Linked DNA regions of Homo sapiens: region 2 is linked to region 1. Evidence: promoter capture Hi-C in 16 types of primary human blood cells and fetal thymus (Javierre and others, 2016). All regions are on one chromosome and are shown on one strand. The core of a region is centred on a gene start or on the middle of the fragment in contact, and the rest is flanking DNA. Distances in the headings are between cores, read along the strand shown.

Region 1 (7,653 bases), core at 2,973-5,472:
TATCTTCCTTTTTAAAGTGTTGTCTGAACTGGGCGCTGTGGCTCATGCCTGTAATCCCAGCACCTTGGTAGGCTGAGGCAGGCGGATCACTTGAGGTCAGGAGTTCGAGACCAGCCTGACCAACATGGTGAAACACCGTCTATACTAAAAATACAAAAATTAGCCGGGTGTGGTGGCATACACCTGTAATCCTAGCTACTCAGGAGGCTGAGGAAGGAGAATTGCTTGAACCCGGGAGGCGGAGGTTGCAGTGAGCCGAGATCATGTCACTACATTCCAGCCTGGGCAGCAGAGCGAGAGTCCGTCTTAAAAATAATAAATAAGGGCCGGGCGCGGTGGCTCACGCCTGTAATCCCAGCACTTTGGGAGGCCGAGGCGGGTGGATCATGAGGTCAGGAGATCGAGACCATCCTGGCTAACAAGGTGAAACCCCGTCTCTACTAAAAATACAAAAAATTAGCCGGGCGCGGCGGCGGGCGCCTGTAGTCCCAGCTACTCGGGAAGCTGAGGCAGGAGAATGGCGTGAACCCGGGAAGCGGAGCTTGCAGTGAGCCGAGATTGCGCCACTGCAGTCCGCAGTCCGGCCTGGGCAACAGAGCGAGACTCCGTCTCAAAAAAGAAAAAAAAAAAAAAATAATAATAATAATAATAAATAAATAGCGTTGTATGGCAGATGCACCTGACAGCAATAACTTTAAGCATACCCTGAGAATACCCTGTGGTCTAAGAAGAATGTGTGCTTGGAGCTAAGGAATCCGGGAATGGCCAAGGCGAATATTCACTCCTTATCTGTGGAGCTGCTTGGGAGGCTGAGGCTGTAGAATTACGTGGGGCCCAGGAGTTCGAGGCTGCAGTGAGCTGTGATGGCACCACTGCTCTCCAACGTGGGTGACAGAGGGAGACCCTGTCTTGAAATAATAAAAATAAATAAATTATGCCCAGTTAGCCACTTGGGATCCATCTTGAAGGACTGGCTTTTTCAGGTTCACATTTGTTCACAAATGCAAACACACACACAACAATTCCTCATAATTTATATTAATAGATTTCTCTGAATGCCTCTTAGAGTTTACCATGCGCTGTGTGCTCTAAATGAATGTAACATTAAAAGTCAGATGATTTTTTTAGTTCAATTTGAATGGCAATTTTTGATGTTCTTAAATTGGTACAGAGCCATAATTCAGAATAGCGGTGCAAAGCTCACTGAGCACGTTCATGACCCTTGAAAGTCTTCGAAAACAGATTACTGGGCTTCGCTCCCAGAGAATGATTTCGTTTCTTAGGTTCTGTGGTGCAGGCAGGTTTGGAAATCACTTATCTAGAAGTCCTTAATGCTTTGTGAAACTTAAGGCCGCTCACTCCATCTACCATTTTCTCAGAGGGCAGCATAGTATTAATGGAAATGACCCGTTGCATTTTACTTCTTGCGTGCTGTTACCACCACTGCCTTTTACTCTCCTTTGAAATAATTAAAAGCACTGGGAAGGGAAAGCACTGGAGAATTTTACTAAACATAATCTGTTGCAATAAGGTGTAACTAAATAAAATGATAGAAAACTGTGCCTTTTAGAACAGGAATCAACTGCATGATCTGTGTGCTTTCCAAAAGTGTGGCTCACTCTTCTTTTGCAAAAGAAAACTACAAGGAATCTTGACAGGAAGTTGTTGGGTTTTTGTTTTTGTTTTTGTTAAGTAGTTAGTTCTACCAAATAGTTTTGCAAATAGACCCAGGCTTGACTGGCAATTAAACATGAAACTTCTCATTGGGTATTTTCGAGACTACTACGGGGAATCAGCTACCAGCTTACTGCCATGTGGAGAACTGCACGAGATTCCGGGATTGGAATCAAAATGCTAATTTAAAAGGTCAAGTGAAGCTGCTCCTCACGTTTTGGCGTGCCTGCGCTCTCTGCAGGCAGAAGCGAACAAAGACCCAGCAAGAGAAGGCAGAGGCTAAGACCCATCCCGTATCTGCTCTCCTGAAATAATTCTGGAGTCATGCCTGAAATGCCAGAGGACATGGAGCAGGTAAGAACTAGCAATTCAAGAAATGAAGCATTCTAGAGTAAGAGATGCTTTAAAAGCATTCCAGTGAACGCCTGCTAAAACCAGAATTGTTGTGTAAAGAAAATAGAAACGGGTGTCATTCATTTCCTTAAAACATAACCTCGGGACATGGAAGAATAAGCCAACTTTAGTTACTGACCCGGAGAACCAGGTTATGAAGGGCTCAGCTAAGTCTCACTAGCTGACAATACAGAATTGCACTTTCATTTACCATTTTAAATGCAATTATGTATATAAAGTTTCTACATAAATAAGGATTTTATCTGTAGTGTGTTCCTTTCCAGATGTTCTTTGTCTTTGTATGAATTGAATCTGCTAACATAACTTTTAGTTTCAGGCTGCTCTCTTTAAATGTATAGACTTAGCCACCACACGAAGTTGTATATTGTCTATGTTAAGAATGGCGTTTGATTCGCATAGACCCTACCATCATTAAAGAAAATGATTAAAAACCATATCCAAACATATGCCCCTAGAACTGTACCCAACTTTTACGGGGAAAGTATCAAGTCAGATTTTCAAAAGCAGCCAAGTTAAATTCTTTCTGTTCCTCAAGACTAGGCTGCTCTGAGAATCAGAATGCTAATTGCATATGCTTGCCCTTAAACCTGCTTCACGTTGAAGAATGAAGAATTAATTTTCTTTTCTCCCATAGAAAGGTAAGATTACATCACGTGTTGCGACTAGAAACTTTAAACCGAATTCCCAGTTAAGAGAAAAAGTAGTAAGATGATCTTGGCTGCTCCCCCGGCCCTCTTCCCGCCCTCTTCTTTGTTGTCCCCTGATTATGCTTGTTTAGCGCTGGGGCAGTCCTCAAGGATTCCCTAAATAAAGCCAAACTAATGAACAGTAATAGCCTGTGTTTAAAAAAAAAAAAAATCGGAACATAAGAAACCTCAGGCTGTCTTCGATTACTGTTCTAGAGAAACTTTATGTTTACACGAATAAGGAAATGAGTTTTTGTTGGGGGTTGAGGAGGAAGGAAAGTCATGGTGTTCTGACGTGGAAAACTTCTTTAAAAGGCTGCTTAGTCTTTAGTTTGAAAATAAACCAAAAAGGTTTAGGAGTCGGGGAAAGGCCCTAGGAAAATCCAGACAGTGGTCACGTTTGTGGACGACGTTTAGAGCTTGCTATCCTGGGCACACAAGAACCCTTGGACTGTTCGGTGCAAAGTTGGCAAATCCTACACGGCCTGTGCCAGGGTTTACTTTCTGCATCAATTTCACAGGCGTCCAGCCTGGCTGAGGATTTTTTGCGGTTTTTAACTGGAAGGGAAATAAGTCGGCATCAGCACTTAGGGCTGCTTAACTTTTAAAAGGTGGTAGAACGCCCAGCCTTACACGCTGCTGCTTAAATTCTCGGTGCTCACCAAGGCTGGGCTCGTGTGGCCCAATCCTGCAATCCCCGAGGCGGTGTTTCTTAAAGAGTGGGCTTGATTCTGGTTAAACCCATTAAGAAGTCGGACCCCGGGCTCGTTTCTTGTTCTGTAATTATGGGTAAAGTCCAAGGATCTGCGTTTTGAAGAGGTACCTAAGTAGTTCATCTTCCTTCCCCCTACAACTTTTTATTTTTAATTAGTTAAAAATAGTTTTACATTTTTGATATCTCACACACAGGTTTTTTCTTTTTTTAAGCATCCCAGGAAGACAAATGGCTCAGACGCCAACCCTTTTATTTTTATTCCTTGTCTTTTTCTAAATCTTTCAAAACCCCCACCTAGAGCTCTAGAGATGTGTCCATTATGCTCTACCCACCTCCGCCCCCGCCCCCATGACTTTAAAATGCTTTTTATTCCACTTTTTATATTGCTCAGTCGATCCTCATGCACTGCGCAGTCTGCAAACTTGAAACTCAAGGCGATCCACTTCAATCTTTTCCCGAGTCAAGAAAAAAAGGAAAAAAAGTAGAATAAAAAGCACTCAAATAAAATCTCCGAAACAAAACCTGAATTCACTGCCTAAGGTCAGGGCCTTTCTTTTGTGTGTCGCTTTAAGCATCGGCGCGTGGGCTGGGGGCAGACCGCGCGTACCCGCCCTCTTTCTGGGGCGTCGGCGGAGCGTGGCCAATCAACGGGCGCGGCTATGGCAGCGGAAGCCGGAAGCGGCGAGCGGGGTCGTTCTGGGCCTAGGGGAGGCGGGCCGAGGGCGTCTGAGCTGAGGCCCGCGTCGATCCTGGGTTGGAGGAGGTGGCGGCCGCTGAGGCTGCGGCGTGAAGACGGCGGGCATGGTGGGGCGGGAGAAAGAGCTCTCTATACACTTTGTTCCCGGGAGCTGTCGGCTGGTGGAGGTGAGGGAGTCGGCCTGGGCGTCTCCGGTGGGAGCGGGGGCGCCGAGGGGGACGAGCCACCGGGGCTCGGGCGGCTTTGCAGGCGTATTCCGCCCGGGTCAGAGCCTCCGGCCGGGAGTGGTCTCACCGCCACCCTCCCAGCCCCGGATCCGAGGGGGGCGCCACCGAGTTTGTTTATCTCAGCGCACACGGGTCAGTGTTTTTTTCTTCCAGCCACTGCGGCAGGAAGCAAGTAGGTGGAGGTTTTACTTTCGAGTTCTGTCTCTGCTCCTGAGGACGAAGAGGTTTTTCAGAATTGTTTGTTTTGATTTTGGTTTTCCCCGTTTATTCATCTTTGGTTCGTATTTCTCGATCTTACAAGTTCGTAGGTTTGAGAAAGAACAGGAAAAGGTGACTTCTCACAAATAACAGTGCTGGAGATGACAACTTATTGAACTCTTAAGTTCTCAGCACTATGTTATGCACTTGACGGGCATTACTTTAATCCTCCACTGTGAGATACTTGTTATTGCCTCATTTTGTAGACGAGAAAACGGGCATAGAGGGTGAGACATTGGCCCAGGTTCATTCCGTAAGGTTGGAGCCTGGAATTCAGATACAGGTTTGTGTGACTGTCTTGGGCTTTGAACCACTACGGAGTTTCCCTGAAGGAAGATTATGGTGATGATTGGAAGATCCATCTCTGGTGCCCCCCTCGCCCCCGTCCCATCCTGCTCCATTCCACTTAAGGGCCTCCAGCATTAATCTGTCCACAGAACATATCCAACCCTGGGGATAAGAACACTACTAATGCCCAGACCATGTCTTTTGGAGAGAGTAGAGAATATAGGAGATGGCTGTTTCTGTTATTGCAAAGTTTTCATGCTTCCAAATTTACTTAGGGTTTTCAAATCACTTTGGTTCTTTGAGGGTAAAGTTAGGATAAATGGTCTATTAAACCTCTATGTTCCTAGGTCCTCCAGACCGTGCTGAGTGCATGTTACATACGTTTACATTTATATGTATGCATTTGTATGTGTACGTGTGCATATAAAGCTTAATCTACTTTCACAAAAAGAAGTTCAGTATAAAAATGAAAATAGCTTTTCGTGTTTTCCTTCATTAAAAATGAAACAACGAAGAGCTTGGCACAGACTTACTGCTCTCAAAACCTGTAGAATTAAAGCTTACTGACTCATGAGAACGAGAACTGTCTCATAGTTAACGTTAGAGAAGCATCCTGGAGTGGTTGTTGTTAGTAATACTGTCTGTGGAGCACAGTAGCGTCGCAGTAGAAGTTAGACCAATCCCACCTAAGTAGTCAGAGAATCTTAAAAAGTAAAGCCCAGTAATGTTTACCTTAAGGGTCTGTTTCTGGGGAATTAAAAAATTAAACATGGAACTGTGCCAAGTTTTAAAGTTTCCAAAAACGACAAGGTATTTACCACTGAAATTTGGGAAAACCACATACTAATAGTATTCCATTCTTTACTTTTCTAGAACATTTTTAGTAGACATTAATGCAGGTGTGCTAAAGTAGAAATCACTGTCCCAGAGTACTGTGTTGGACCATTTGGAAGGAGCCATGTATCTCCCATTACCTATACAATTTGGTATCATTCGATTAGATACGATAATAAGAATATTTATTTATATGTACTTAATTTTTCAAGAAATGTTTTTTTGGTGTCCATAAATCTGGTCCCTTGGAGTGATTGAATTCCGTACTTCAGAGTTTAGACAATAAGAGGCAGATACGTTTAGAGTAACTTAAACTGATATTAGATCTACTTTCCCCCATATAATAAAAATTGAGAAAAAGTAGACTTCAGGCAAAGTATTATCAACTCTTTATTGTGCCTTGAGTGAACTAGATAGCATTTTATTCTTTCATTCTGACTTTCTTAAAGTGTTTAGACATTTCTTCCTTGTGCACAACTAAAATAATTTATGGAGTGCAGGTCCAAAGTAGTTTTTAGAGGGATATTTCTTTTTCTAAAGAACGAACCAAAAAGCCTCAACAAAACAGTGTAAAAGGCAGAGTATTGCTTATATAGAAGCTCAAAAACAGAGATATTTGTTTGGCATATTTTAAATTTCGGAGTAATGCATATTCAGAGGAAAAGTTACCTTATTTAAGTAAACGAAACTATTCGGACTCCTCGTGGTAGGGATAATATGGAAAATGTTAGAAATATAGAACTTTAAAGCTGAAAGAGCCTTAGTCATTTTGTCTAAATGCCTTCCCCATTTACCAATGAGGAATTAGATCAATAGAGATAGAATAACTTCTAAACACCAATTTGTGGCAGAACAGATAAAACTTTAATCATTCATGAAACCAAATATTAGTTCACAGGATTGAGACAAAATGCAGTGTATTTGACTTGACCAGAGAAGCAAGACTCAGGTTCTGGTTCCAGCTTTTTCTCTTTTACTATAGACAAAACATTTAACACTGGACTTCTTGTTACTCTCTTTGGAAATAATATCTCTTCTAACAAGCTGCTGGGTTTTTTTGTTTTCTTTTTTTTCCTCTTGCTCTTTCACCCCGTCTGAAGTGCAGTGGCTCAATCTCTGCTCACTGCAACCTCTGCCTCCAGGGTTCAAGCGATTCTCCTGCCTCAGCCTCCCAAGTAGCTGAGATTATAGGCGCCCACCACCATGCCCGACTAGTTTTTCTATTTTTGGTAGAGACAGCGTTTCACCATGTTGGCCAGGCTGGTTTTGAACCCCTGACCTCAAGTGGTTGGTCCACCTTGGCCTCCCAAAGTGCTGGGATTACAGGCGTGAGCCCTGGCACCCGGCCTCAAACTGCTATTAAAAAAACAAAAACAGCTATGATTGTATACTTATATAACACGTTAGTTTTCTTTTTTTTGGTTTTTTTGTTTGTTTGTTTTTTTGAGATGAAGTCTAGCTCGTGTCCCCCAGGCTGGAGTGCAGTTGTGCGATCTCGGCTCACTACGACCTCCGCCTCCTGGGTTCGAGCGATTCTCCTGCCTCAGCCTCCCGAGTAGCTTAGATTACCTAAAATTACCTAGAAAAAAATATGAAACAGTGTACAGTACCCAGCAGTCAGGTGTCAGTGCTCAAGATTTTTATTAAGAGTGACGATCTGAAGTGCAAGCATTTACTGAAATGGAAATGATACTGCACAACATTTTATTTGAAAATTAACATGTTATAGGCCGGGCGTACTGGAGGCCTTACATAGTAACCCAGGGGTATAAGGATATAAAGTTGCATTTTCTCATACAACTCCACTTCCTTTTTTACGTTAAGGTATTATATTCCCTAAAGAGCCTTGTTCTTCTCTAT
Region 2 (7,653 bases), core at 1,546-4,045, about 15 Mb before region 1:
TTGATGCTTGTGCTAATATTCATACATCCAAAAATCTAAAAATTAAAAACAATGAGGTAGTGTGGTAAATTACAGATGGCCACAAAGTCTTTGCTACATCTTCAATTAAGAGGTGGACTCTTATTCTTCTCTTGAATCTGGGCTGGCTTAGTGGCTTTTTTGACCTAACACGACGTGATGGAAGTCACTCCTGGGACTGCAGAGGCTACATTATATGAAGTTTTGTAGCTTCCTCCTGTTTTGCTTGGAACAGCTCCCTTTTTTCCCATTCTACCTCCAAGTGCTCCCTGTCAAAACCCAAACACCACGGTATAAGAAACCCAAATCAGAGGGAAAGCCCAAGTGTAGGCACTCTGATAAATAGCTCCAACTGAGCATCTAGAGATCAGCCAGCCTCAACTGCCATCAATATAACATCTATTAGAGGCTGACATTAACTACAGCCCCAGTTTGATATCTGACTGTAAATGCCAGAGACTGCAAGCTAGGACTGCCCAGCCTAACCCAGTTACCCTACAGAATCAGGGCAGATAAAATTTTTAGCCACTAAATTCTGGAGTGACTTGTTACGTAGGTACCATAATGTCTATTTTAAAGAAACCTGAACCTTAGAGCTGAAGTGATTGCCCATTGTCTCTCTGCCAGTAAGCAGAGGAACTCACAGTTAACCAAGTCTTTCTGGTTCTAAAGCCTGCATTGCTGACTACTAAATACACAACTTCTCAGTCAAAACAGCTACAATAGTTTTTTTTTTTCCTTTTTACCTTCAAAAAAAATCCTGTATTTGAATTCATAGTGGAGTTCTGCCATATACGCCAAGTCTAAGGGTAGTTAAGAATAGCCTTGATATGCATAGCACCTTCTGCAGTTGTGCACTGAACAGGCTCCATAGCCATATGAACCTGTCCTGAGCAAACTCCAACCACTATCCCTGACCAAAACTTCTCTTGAGTATTAGTCATCATTTTAACAAAGGGATTATCTGTTGTTTAGGTACCTAAGGAATTTCAAGGAAGAACACGGGCTGATACTAGAACTCATGGAAGAATGAAAAGAGATACTTTAGAATTTAATTAAAAAGTGGGGATTGAAAATTAAAACAACACAGCGGTTTAAGGTCATTTACTGTAGGGCAAACTTTCCTGCAGCGCTCAGGGACCCCATGATGGTGCCACTGTACAGGAGAAATACTAACTCAGGACCTTTTTAATGAAAACCTGTAACATCAAGGTACAAATAAATCCTAGAGATGAAGGGATACATATAACATGCTCTACCTGAAAATGTTAAAACTAGTTTTGATATCTTATTATATATAACACTCATAGCAGTGAGAAAATATCTTTAACATTTATTACAATGATTTGTGGTAGGAAATTTTCTAAACTTGAGGTAGGAAACCTTTCTTACTCATGAGTATTCATTTCAGGTCCCACTACAGTGCTTTTTACAAAAGGAGGAATGCTAATAAAATGAAAATCATATTCCATTGAATTAAAAATTCAGGCCAATTGTGCTGAAATAAATCTTACTGAATGCCTTCTAAATATGCCATGCCCTGCACTAGAAACTTTCGTAATTCCTATTTATTCTTCAGAATAACCTGGGAAACAGAAAAAGCTAAAGTCTGTTTCCTTTATTAAAGTTTGAATATGAAGAAACCGACAGAAGCAAATAGCATAAAAATTCATTTTTGTCTTCAATTACAGGAAGAATGTAACATGAAAGCTGAGATTACAATGAATAGTACATGAATATGATGAGGTTTTGTTTTGTTTGTCCTACCAGAGCTCCAAATAAAAACACAGATATATGGTTTGACATACGGAATGGGATAGCTAAAACTGTGACTGCCTAAGACAAGCTGAAACCTAAGGTGCCGAACCATATTGGGGAAAGAGGGGAAAAACCAGTAGGTCTGCTATCAATCAAGAAAAGAATAAGAAGAAATGGGATTCCCAAGCCTTCTTCAGCTTTTTCTTCTCCAGCAGAATAGCCTAGTCAATGCTACGTCTTGTCAAATTGTGTCTCACATGGCTTTAATGCACACTAACTTTCCTAAGAAGTATTTGTATCTATTTAAATCTAGGGATTTTAGCCCATATTAATTACATGTATATTAGGGCAAGAACACAGGATGTAAAAGGTAAAAATCTGAATTTCAGTCCATCTGCGAGACATTGTGAAAATCAATTACACTCTCTGAAGACAATTCCTTATCCATTAAACAACAGAAAAGGTGATTAAGTTGATCCTTGCCTACATGTCAGAGTCGTGTAGAGTTTTTAATGACACTCATGTGAAATTCCTTTGGACTGTAAAATACTATTACTTACGTGCAAAGATAATGTCCCGAAATCACAGAAGGGATGACTTAACATTAACATCTTTAACTGCGCCCCCGTCCTTCCTCTCAAAAAAAAAAAGTTCTCTATTTTTAGTTGAATGATTCTGGGAAAATCTCTATTGGAACCTATCGACTTCGCAAATGACAAAGGCGAGGTCCAGAGACTTATCCAAGACCCCAGAGTACCAGTGGAAATCAAGACCAAACCACACGGTGGAGACTGGTTCCGACGTATCAGACTCAGTGCTTCCGGCATGGCGCTTTAGTGTCAGGTGAAAGAACAGCAACCCGCCCCGCTTCTCCACCCCTGACAAGCCTTCCGAAATGCCACGCTGAACATGGCTGCCGCGCTTCGATGCTTCTTCACACACACAATATGGACACGGGTTTGAGGCTCCAGCCCCGGATGACAACACTCCGGAAATATGCGAGCGGCGGCGGAAGCGGAAGTGCCTCAGCGGTAGGGGCCGGGGAAGTGTCTGTAGCGTCCCTCCCTCTCAACCACAATAACAGGCGGAGGGTCGGCGTAGGTGAGGCGGCGGCTGAGTGGGCCTGGGGACCGGGAGCGGGGTGGCAAAGCCCGGAGTGCGTGCGGCAGGGCTGAGGTAGCTGGGTGGGGATTCTGGAACTTCCGACCGCTTAAGCTCGGCCTCTGGCCCCCTTGGGGCCTAGAGCTCCTTGAGAGATCAGGGGTTGAATTTGTAGTTCCTGGCCTTCTAGGCCGTGCTTGCGGGGGTTGCCTGCTTGTCTGAACCTGGCCCCAAAATCCAGCATAAAGAACTCTCTCTGGGCCCCAGTTTCCTCAATGAAATGGGTGAGGGTGTTGGACTGGACAGCTTCTGTGACTGTCTCCCACCCCGGGCGTCACGAATTTCATGATTTTAATGTTAAGTCGGTGTTTCGGCCAGTAAAGTGAAGGAGGTCTGTGTTCAGCGTAGTGAGGAGATGTCCCTGAGCAGGAAGCAGTGAACACATCTTTGGCTGCCACGCCTGAGTATCAGGAGCCCTGAATTCTAGTTTCACCCCTTCCACCTACACACCGTGTGACCTTGTCTAGGTCCATTAGCTTTTCTGTGCTGCAGTTTGCTTATCTGTGTTGGATGCCTTTGATGTCCGTGCCCTAGCTGTGGAAATCAGATTCTTAACTCCCTTTTCATGGAGTCTTTACAGACCTGAAAAGCATATTCTCCCTGCACTCTGCACACCCAGAATTTGACTAAGAGATGTCTACCGTGTTTCTTTGCAGACACCAAGCTGGCCAAGGGCAACTGGTCACTTAGGAAGGTTCCTGTGCAATGAGAAGCTCTGTCCAGAAAACTTTGTTTTATACACCTAAACCAGCAGTGTAAATCACTACAAAGTGAAAAACAGGAGACCTTGATTTTTGTTCCAAAGTTGCTATTAACTTGATGGTTTACTTTGGCCAAATCCCTTCCTCTCTCTGAACTTGAGATTTTTTTATCTGCTAAAGGAAGACGTTGGATTAGGTCACTGGTTTTTAATCCCCTTTCCCATTCCCCCAGCACAAGTGAAGGATAAAATAATAGTTCTATAAAGCCATGATTTTCCCAGGGAAGGAGGAGGTCCAGTCTGGAGGGTATGTATTACATAGGCATAGACTGAAAAAAATCCGCTTGTAATTTTTAACTTTCATTTTGAGAATTAACATTTTAGATTATCTGTAAGCCTTCTTTCCCCTCTTTAAAATATGTGATGCTGTAATTCTGATGTCCTCCTTGGGTAAAGAATGTAGAGTTTTGTGTGCCTCTTTGTTTAAATGGCTGTGTGCCCAGAGGTACACACTTTATATTTAGTCAAACAGATACTAATGCATAGCAGAGGAGAAAAAGGGACAACTAGATTCCAGTAAGATAGGGTGATATAGTGAAGTAAAATTGGTGGTATACTAAAATGAAATAAGGTGGTATAGTGAAATAAAATTAAAAAGGAGTTGAAGACCTGTATCCCTGCTTCACACTGGTACATCCTGCCTCTGTGACTTTGGACAAGCCATCTAACATCTCTAGGCCTCACTTTCCTTATCTGTAAAACGAAGGGTTGAGCTGGATGATTCCTAGGCCTTTTTCAGCACCATCATCCTGTTGGGGGGTTTTTGTTTTGTTTTGTTTGTGTGTGGTTTTTATCTGAGCAGTTTGGTTTATGTGGTGTGGTATTTCTTTAGACAAGAGAGGCTGTCCTGGTCAGTAGATACACAAGATAGTCTATGATGTCAATTAAGGTCTGTGAGGTCAAATTAAGTGATATGCAAGATTACTTTGATATGAGCAAGCTGAAACCAATAGAAACTAAAGAAAGGCATGAGAAACTTGAAGGGCAGGGAAGCCCTTGACCAGATAGGATCATTGAGAATATAGGGAAGTTTCAAGTGAGAGGGGGTATTTTTCACGAGGGTAAAGAAAAGTAATTTGAGTTTGGGATGGGAAGGAGATTTGAATTGACGAGATAGGAGAACACTTTTTGGAAACAACTCTGGTTTAAGAATGTGCTTGCAACACCAAGACAAAAGTAATGCTTCCTGTGGCTAAGGTCAGCTAAGCAGGCAGCCACAGAGTGACTGTAATATACCAAAGGTGGCCATAGACCACTGCATGGGAGCCTAAATTAAATGGACCATAAATCCTAATTGGTGAAGGTAGGGTGTGGTCAGATGCAGTTCTATCAGAGCATCTAGAAGCCTTTCTCCAAGCACTAGGGCATTGCTCTGGAATGCAGGAAGACAACCACAGTGACAGAGGACTGACTTGATGATAGAATGTTTACTGTAACCTGGGAAGTCTGTATCCCAGCCTGAACCTTGACACTATTTAATCTTGGGCAAGTGATTTGTCACCTTATCCTCTCTGGTTCTGTTTGTTCATCTTAAAAATTTGGGATCACTAGATGAGCTTCGATGTCTGTGAATATGAACCCCCTGAAATCGTGTATGTATTTCTGCTTGCATGAGTCTGGAAAACGGATGTGCCACTTTCATCGTATTCTCAGATGGGTTTGTGACCCACAAAAAATTGAGAACTGTGTGATTAGGTAGTGTCTCTGGTCCTCTTCAACTTTTAACATTCTGGGATTCTGTAATTCTGTCATTTCTGACATTTCCTTAAGGTTCAGAGTCTTAGGGTCTAGAAGTTGCTAAGCCTATAGGTAACACCTGGTACCGCAAAGTATAGTCTTTATATATAATACTCTCCTCCTTATTTATTCAGGCATAGCTCAGAGATACTGCAGGTTTGGTTCCAGACTACTGCAATAAAGCAAGTCACAAAGTTTTTGGTTTCCCTGTGTATATAGAAGTTATATTTTACAATGTAGTATAATCTATCAAGTGTGCAACAGCATTATATCTAAAGTAATGTATACGCCATAATTTTAAAGTACTTAATTTAAAAAAAATGCTAACAATTAATCTGAGCCTTCAGCGAGTCATAATATTTTTGTTAATGGAAGATCTTGTCTCTGTCTTGGTGGCTGCTGACTGATCAGGGTGGTGGTTGCAGAACATTGGGGTGGCTTGGCAGTTTCTTAGGACAACAGTGAAGTTTGCCTCATTGATTGGCTCTTCCTTCTAGGAAATATTTTGTTGTAACATGCGATGTATGATAGCATTTTACTCACAGTAGAACTTCTTTCAAAATTACATTCAGTTCTCTCAAACCCTGGTGCTGCCGTATCAACTGAGTTTATGTAGTATTCTAAATCCTTTGTTGTCATTTCAATAATGTTCACAGCATCTTCACCAGAAGTAGATTTCATCTCAACAAACCACTTTCTTTGTTCATCTATAAGAAGCAACTTCTCATCTGTTCAAGTTTTATCATGAGATTGCAGCAATTCAGTCACATCTTCAGGCTCTACATCCGATTGTAGTTCTCTTGCTATTTCCTCCACATCTGCAGCGACTTCCTCCACTGATGTCTTTTGTTGTTTATTATTTCAATCCTGCTCCTCCTATAACCACAGAAGTCTTGAATCCCTCAGAGTCATCCATGAGGACTGGATTCCAAACTCTTGTTAATGTTGATATTTTGACCTCCTCCCATGAATCACAGACGTTCTTAACAGCTTCTAGAATGTGTATCCTTTCCAGAAGGTTTTGAATTTAGTTTGCCCATATCCATCAGAGGAATCACAGTCTATGGCAGCTATAGCCTTAGGGAATTTATTTCTTTTTTTTTTTTTTTTTTTTGAGATGGAGTCTAGCTCTGTTACCAGGCTCGAGTGCAGTCGTACGATCTTGGCTCACTGCAACCTCTGACACCCTGGTTCAAGCAATTCTCCTGCCTCAGCCTCCCAGGTGGCTGGGATTACAGGCACATGCCACCACACCCAGCTAATTTTTGTATTTTCAGTAGAGATGGGGTTTCACTATGTTGGCCAGACTGGTCTCGAGCTCCTGACCTTGTGATCTGCCTGCCTCGGCCTCCCAAAGTGCTGGGATTACAGGTGTGAGCCACCGGGTCCAGCCAGGAAATTTGTTTCTTAAATAATATGACTTGAAAGTTGAAAGTTCTTGATCTAGTTGATCTATTAGCTGCAGAATGGATATTGTGTTAGCAGGCATGGAAACAATATTAATCTCCTTGTGTATCTAATGGACCTCTTGAATGACTAGGTCCATTGTCAATGAACAGTAATATTTTAAAAGGAAACTTTTCTGAGCAGTAGATCTTAGTAGAAGTCTTATTTAGTATACTATACTGTAAACAGATGTGCTGTCTTTCAGGCTTTGTTGTTCCTTTTATAGAGCACAGGCAGAGTAGATTTAGCATCATTCTGAAGGGCCCTAGGATTTTCAGAATGGTTAGTGAGCATTGGCTGCAACTTCATGTCACCAGCTGCATTCTCTAACAAGATAATCAGCCTGCCCTTTGAAGCTAGGCATTTACTTCTCCCTAGCAGTGAAAATCTGATATGGAATATTATTCCAATGGAAGGCTGTACGTACTGAAAATCTGTTGTGTAGTGTAGCTACTTTCAGCCGTTATCTAAGTTAGATCTTTTGGATAACTTGTTGCAGCTTCTCCATCAACATTTGCTGCTTCACCTTGTGCTTTTCCGCTATGGAGACAACGTCTTTCCATAAACTCATGAACCACCCTCTGCTAGCTTTCAACTTTTCTTCTAAAACTTCCTCACCTCTCTCGGCCTTCATAGAATTGCAGAGACTTAGGGCCTTGCTCTGGATTAGTCTTTGGCTTAGGGAATGTGGCTGGTTTGAACTTCTGTCCATAAAACTCAGACTTTGTGTATATCAGCAATAGGCTGTCTTGCTTTCTTATCATTTGTTTATT

Evidence for each region. Contacts are between HindIII fragments. The CHiCAGO score rates a contact against its expected background, and 5 or more counts as called.
Region 2: the fragment with the promoter of FBXO38 here is called in contact with the fragment with the promoter of MAT2B in region 1 in 1 of 17 cell types (total CD4 T cells); the score reaches 9.1 in total CD4 T cells.

Annotation. Positions count from the first base shown.
Region 1 is chr5:163,501,397-163,509,049 of GRCh38, forward strand. It overlaps MAT2B (methionine adenosyltransferase 2 non-catalytic beta subunit), which reads left to right and starts at 4,223. Exons shown (of 7, transcript NM_013283.5): 1 at 4,223-4,353. The coding sequence starts at 4,291. RefSeq lists enhancers at 1,532-2,340, 1,676-1,725, 3,956-4,762, 3,980-4,069, 4,110-4,229 and a silencer at 4,400-4,539. The HindIII fragment of the contact is 7,455 bases long and covers 1-5,386 here.
Region 2 is chr5:148,381,163-148,388,815 of GRCh38, forward strand. It overlaps FBXO38 (F-box protein 38), which reads left to right and starts at 2,796. Exons shown (of 22, transcript NM_205836.3): 1 at 2,796-2,877. It overlaps FBXO38-DT (FBXO38 divergent transcript), which reads right to left and starts at 2,688. Exons shown (of 5, transcript NR_105057.1): 1 at 2,337-2,688. RefSeq lists an enhancer at 2,573-2,772. The HindIII fragment of the contact is 17,680 bases long and covers 1-7,653 here.